Linked DNA regions of Homo sapiens: region 1 is linked to region 2. Evidence: promoter capture Hi-C in human tissues and cell types (Jung and others, 2019). All regions are on one chromosome and are shown on one strand. The core of a region is centred on a gene start or on the middle of the fragment in contact, and the rest is flanking DNA. Distances in the headings are between cores, read along the strand shown.

Region 1 (3,227 bases), core at 613-3,112, 310 kb before region 2:
ATAAGATCAAATGCTCTTAAATGTTCCTGTTACCATCCTAATGTAAATACTGGATTTTTCTGTCATTTAGCACCATGCTGCTTCTGTCTGTCTTAATGCTGGCATTAAGATCATGAGCCCTTTTTCTCCAGTAGTACAGGCTTTGAAAACTACTTCTATTAAGTTATTGATGCAATTTGATATTTTTTCATAATCTATATTTAAACAAAATTACATCATTGCATCATCTTTTCTAAATTCATCTCCATTAAAACTTGCCTTAAGCTACCAGATTGCTTTTGCCACCATTGGCCATACTGTGTGTTTGTTTGTTTAATTTACTTTCACAATAAACTTCTGTGTAGTAAAAACAGGGTCTTGGCTCTTTCTTGACCTAACCCAGTAATTTCTAAGAAAGCAACAACAGTGGCATCTAGTGGTAATTTCTGTTGATTCCAAAGAAGACTACTTTAAATATAGGTATCACAAGGTATACAAATCCCCCAGTGTATATTATGGTTTTCAAGAAATCTGGCTTGATTTACCCATCCTGTGAGATATGACCATAAAGTAGTGATGTTGGGAGAAAGAATTTTAAATTACACATCCAAATTAGTTCCATCTTTCAAGCTAGTTGTTTTGGAAATATACAGCCGTTTTGATTGTGCTGGTGTTATATCAAACATTCTTAAGACTCCTGGCATTTTCCTACAACAGAAAAGTAAGCCCTTTTCCTTGAAAGTATGCCTTAAGCTTGACACATGATAAACAGATTCACTCATTAACCACAAGACTTACTGCAAATGACAAAAATGCCTTTAAATTCTGAATTGACACCATTAAGGGAAATTCCAAAGAGTAGGATTCATGCTCTGAGAGTTAATTTCAAAAAATTGAGCAGTAACAGCATGGTTTTAGTAAGTATATCACTTCTAGAAACATAATTGGATATGCTAGCTCGGGGCTGCTTGGTGAAAAATATCTTACTTGATTTATGCCTCATTTGGCAATGAGGAGCTTTTCAATCTATAAACCATTGTATTATCCATAACACATTACCCCAAAACTTAGCAGCTTAAAACAATAAATACGTATTATCCCACAGGTGAGTCACAAATCTGGAAGTAGCTAAGATCAATGGTTCTGGTTCAGAGTTCCTCATAAGGTTAGAGTCATCCTGGGCTACAGTCATCTCAAGGATTGACTGGATGAAAGATCCCCTTTCAAACCCACTAATGTGGTCACTGACTGGCCTCGGTTCTTTGCAGCTTGCTAGATGAAAGGCAGATGTTCCTTGCTAGATGTTGGACAGAGACCTGCTTCCATTTCATGCCCAGCTGGGTCTTTCCATAGGACAGTGCACAGCAGGGTAGCTGGCTTCCCCCAAGGCAAGTGATCCAAGAGAGCGCACACCCAAGTTGAAAGCACAGTCTTTTTTTTTTTTTTTTTTTTTTTTTTTTTGAGATGGAGTCTCGCTCTGTTGCCTAGACTGACTGGACTGCAGTGCTGCAATCTCAGCTCACTGCAACCTCCCCCTCCCGGGTTCAAGCGATTCTCCTGCCTCAGCCTCCCACGTAGCTGGGATTACAGGTGCCCATCAACATGCCCGGCTAATTTTTGTATTTTTCATAGAGACGGGGTTTCACCATGTTGGCCAGGCTGGTCTCAAATTCCTGACCTCAAGTGATTCGTCCGCCTCGGCATCCCAAAGTGCTGAGATTACAGGTGTGAGCCACCATGCCCAGCCAAAAGCACAGTCTTAGAACTGAATCTTGGGCTGCCATATTGTATGTTAGAATCAAGTCACTGGGTCTGGTCCACACTCAAAGGGGGAGGAATATTAAGCTTCATCTGTTGAAGGCGGGGATGTCAAAGCATTTGTGGACATCTTTCTAAACCACCATGGTGATATTACCAAATATACGTAACTGAGTATAAGATACCTTTGGTGTTTTGCCGGGCGCGGTGGCTCACACCTGTAATCCCAGCACTTTGGGAGGCCGAGGCAGGCAGATCATGAGGTCAGGAGATCGAGACCATCCTGGTTAACGGTGAAACCCCGTCTCTACTAAAAATACAAAAAATTAGACGGGTGTGGTGGCGGGCGCCTGTAGTCCCAGCTACTCGGGAGGCTGAGGCAGGAGAATGGTGCGAACCCAGGAGGTGGAGCTTGCAGTGAGCCAAGATCGCACCACTGCACTCCAGCCTGGGCAACAGGGCGAGACTCCATCTCAAAAAAAAAAGATACCTTTGGTGTTTTAATCTAAACATTCTTTAAAGGTAAGATTTCAGTCTTGCAGATTTGAATACATGATTCCCCCTAGATAGCATCAACCCCTTTTCTTGCATCACCATCATATATTCATATATGGCATTTCAGAAATGTTCCAAAGCTAAAAAATGACAGTCACAGGGTGAAATCATGGATGGAAATGGCAGTTTAGTTTGTTTAAATATGGAATATTCTGAAACAGATAAGTCACTGTTTTAGTCAACTCCCAGCTTTTGGTTAGAAAATTTAAGCAACTTAGAATTAAGGTCGTTATTGGCCTCATTCAGATTTCAGAAATGTTGAGGAGATGTTGTAGATAAAAATAAAAGGCCAGGCACAGTAGCTCATATCTGTAATCCCAGCACTTTGGGGGGCTGAGGCAGGAGGATTGCTTGAGGCCAGGAGCTCAAGACCAGCCTGGGCAAGATAGCAAGACCTTCATCTGCACAAAAATATTTTTCTTAATTAGCCAGGCATGGTGGTGCACACCTCTAAGTCCCAGCTACTTGGGAGGCTGGAGTGGGAAGATCGCATGAGCCGAGGATTTTGAGGTTGCAGTGAGCTATGATCTTGCCACCGCACTCCATCCTGGGCCACCAGAGCAAGATATTACCTATAAAAATAAAAATGGAAAATGTTGAAGTTCTATTTTTTTTTTGGAGACTAAAAGTATGGTTATCATTTAGGGGGGGAAATATCCAGTGTCCAAAATAAACATGTTCCCTGCTCACAAGGAATCTACAGTCTAGCTAAAAAGCTGACCAAAGGCAGTAACACTGTTTAAGTTACATTAGAAGTACTGGCTCTTATAGTACATCTATTCTAGTCTGGGTGGTGAATAAAAGCTTCCCTAAAGAGATGTTTTGAGGGTGGGTGCGGTGGCTCACGCCTGTAATCCCAGCACTTTGGGAGGCCGAGGCGGGTGGATCACAAGGTCAGGAGATCAAGACCATCCTGGCTAACATGGTGAAACCCC
Region 2 (3,086 bases), core at 191-2,690:
AGGCAGGAGAATCGCTTGAACCCGGGAGGTGGAGGTTGCAGTGAGCCGAGATTGTGCCATTGCAGTCCAGCCTGGGTGACAGAGCGAGACTCCATCTGGAAAATAAAAATAAAAATAAACAAAAAATAAAAAACTCTTCTGCCGCTTGCAGTGGCTCACACCTGTAATCCCAGCACTTTGGGAGGCTGAGGCAAGAGGATCCCTTGAGACCAGGAGCTCGAGACCAGCCTGGGCAAAATAGTAAGACCTCATCTCTACCAAAACCTTAAAAAATTAGCTGAGCGTGGTGGCGGGTATCTGTAGTCTCAGCTACTTGGGAGGCTGAGGCGGGAGGATCGCTTGAGCCCGGGAGCCGGAGCCTGCGGTGACCCATGTTCACACCACAGCACTCCAGCCTGGGTGACAAAGGGAGACCTTGTCTCAAAAAAATAAAAAATTGGCTGGGAACGGTGGCTCACACCTGTAATCCCAACGCTTTCGGAGGCCGAGGCGGGTGGATCACCTGAGGTCAGGAGTTCGAGAACAGCCTGGCCAACATGGTGAAACCCCGTCCCTACTAAAAATATAAAACTTAGCCGGGCGTGGCGGCGGGCGCCTGTAATCCCAGCTACTCCAGAGGCTGAGGCAGCAGAATGGCTTGAACCCGGGAGGCGGAGGTTGCAATGACCCGAGTCGTGCCACTGCGCTCCATCCAGCCTGGGTGACAAGAGCGAAACTCCGTCTCAAAGAAAAAACTAAAACTCTTCCCATGGTTTCCTTTTAAAACAGACCCTCCATGACCAACCCCTCCATTTCAATACCAGAGAGCCTAACCCGACCTGAAATCACTTTAGTCATGTATGACATCCGCTTCCCAGCCCCCTTCCTTAATGCTCTGGGTTCTGGAGACAGACCACGTCTGTTGGGAGTCCTCTGTGCCCACGCCTGGCACAGAGCCTGGCAAAGAGTAAGCGCTCAAGGAAGATCTGTGAACTTGATGCATGCTAAAAGGAAGCCCCGCGCTCTGCCGGGGCCCTGGAACTCAGGCCACCGGCTCCAGGCGGAAGCGAGCCCAAAGCCGGCCAGGCGGCAGCATCCGCTACCCCGTGGCTCAAGCCAGGCTCCGAGGTGAGAAACCGGGCGGGGACTCCTCACCTGCGCGCCGCGGAGGCCGTGCCAGATGGGCCCTGCCAAAGTCAGCCAGAGGTTCGGGCCCCACGCCTGGCCTTCCACCCTCCCCGGGGCAGCCGCGCCTCAGACCCTCGCGGTAGGGACGGTCCCCGGGACTGGGCGGCAACGCGCCCGGGAGCGGGGCCCCATCCCGGACGGAGACTGGGCCGGTGAGTCCTCGAGCTCTGGCTCTGGCTCCGGCTCCGGCTCCGGCTCCGGCTCCGGCTCCGGCTCCAGCAGGCTGGAGGGGCGGCCAGGCCAGACCCAGACTGGCTGGGCCTCGTCCGGCGCTGGGCCCGTTCCCCTGACAACGGCGCGGGCTACGGCGCCCCACAGCGGCCAAACCGCGCTGCGTCACTCCGCGCCGGTCCCCCGGCCAGGGCGGGGCTTGCCAGGGACCCTCTTGGTGCCCCAGTCGGCCCATTCCCAGATTCTTCCTAACCTTTCGTCTAGAAAATCCGCTTTTCCCTACTCCCGAGTCACAGCTTGTCTCCCCGAAATCCTAACATCTCAAAAGCGCCCCCTTCCAGTTTCTATCCTGAGACCACCGCTCTCAAGAAGAGACCTCCCCCAACCCCAGTCAACCTGCACACTTCAATGAGCGTATGTGCTGGAACATCCATGATATCCCGACCCTTCCGGGAGCTTACAGGTTAAGAGGCAAACAGATCTAGACAAATAAATTACACCACTAAAAATGCAGGTACCCCAGAATATAAAGCGAGAAGCGTAAGAGCTTAAAATAAGCAGCACAAAATATCTCATTTATTTATTGCCTTTAAATCAAGCAAAAATCAAGCCCCAATCTTCCAGGCTGATGGGAAATTCAGTCTTTTTCTATTTTTTAAACTGGTCTCTGTTACCCAGGCTGGAGTGCAGTGGCACGATCACGGCTCTCTGCAGCCTCGAACTCCTGGGCTCAGGCGATCCTCCCGCCTCAGCCTCCAGAGTAGCTAGGACTACAGGCGAACACCACCACGCCCGACTAATTTTCGCATTTTTTTGTAGAGGCGTGGTTTTGCCATGTTGCCCAGGCTGGTTTCGAACTCCTGAACTCAAGCGACCCGCCCACCTCAGCCTCCAAAAGTGCTAGGATTACAGGCGTGAGCCCCTGCCCGGCCGGGAAATTCAGTCTCAGTCTCCACTGTACTCCTTTTAGCTAGGTAATTCCAAAGGACTCATGTTTTCCTATAGCAAAAAACAACAATCAAAAACAAATAAGCAAAAAACTCTCTGGTCAGGGTTTTGTCTGGTACTGAGGCCACAACCATTGCTCCAGTCCACAAAGATTTTCAGGTTTGGGCTCTATGAGGCCATCCCTGCCTGAGGCCCCTGCCTCTCCCTGGGGCTGCCAGGGACAGACACCTGCTTCCTCTGCTCCATGGCCTGCAGCCTCCCTTCCCTTTCTCTACCTGGGAGACTTCCCTGCTAACTTGGTTTCCCTAAAAGTCCCCTCTCCTCTTCTCCTTGTGGACACTCAGAATGGAATCTTCTATGAGCTCAGGCTTTCTCAAAAGACAGGAAGACACTTTGTCTTCTGCTATCTGTCCTGTGCGCATCTCCAAGGCAGATATGACAGATAGGGAAAGAAAACATCCTTATCTCTAAAATGTATAAGTCACAAGCATACTTATTGTATGTTTTATTAGGCAACATAACTACTCCTTCTCTGTCACATGACAGGTGTGTGGGTCCTTGTGCAAGTGACATAACCTATTACTTAAATTCTTGTTTTCAAGACTGATAAACTCAAACTCAATGTGAGATAAATATCAATGCTATTCTGGCTTCAGAGTACAAGCTGACTACTTAACTCTTATCTGGAATTGGAAAACTTCGGGTCAAACAGAGATCATGACCCAGAAATCAAGGTGAAGGATGAGGCTGGATGCAGTGGCTCACACCTGTAATCCCAGCACTTTAAGGAGGCTGAGGCA

The links. The method cuts DNA at HindIII sites, captures the fragments that hold promoters and counts their contacts. A contact is called where the count stands out against the background at its distance.
Region 1: a fragment that was not itself captured here is called in contact with the fragment with the promoter of ZDHHC1 in region 2 in 1 of the 25 tissues and cell types used here (dorsolateral prefrontal cortex).

The regions. Positions count from the first base shown.
Region 1 is chr16:67,100,709-67,103,935 of GRCh38, forward strand. CBFB (core-binding factor subunit beta) reads left to right here. Exons shown (of 6, transcript NM_022845.3): 6 at 1-350. Among named protein-coding and RNA genes, the nearest start is that of PHAF1, 7.6 kb to the right of the region's middle. The HindIII fragment of the contact is 4,683 bases long and covers 1-3,227 here.
Region 2 is chr16:67,415,037-67,418,122 of GRCh38, forward strand. It overlaps ZDHHC1 (zDHHC palmitoyltransferase 1), which reads right to left and starts at 1,441. Exons shown (of 12, transcript NM_001323627.2): 1 at 1,135-1,441. It overlaps LOC124903702 (a long non-coding RNA gene), which reads left to right and starts at 867. Exons shown (of 2, transcript XR_007065093.1): 1 at 867-1,107. RefSeq lists a silencer at 1,108-1,497 and an enhancer at 1,330-1,987. The HindIII fragment of the contact is 12,498 bases long and covers 1-3,086 here.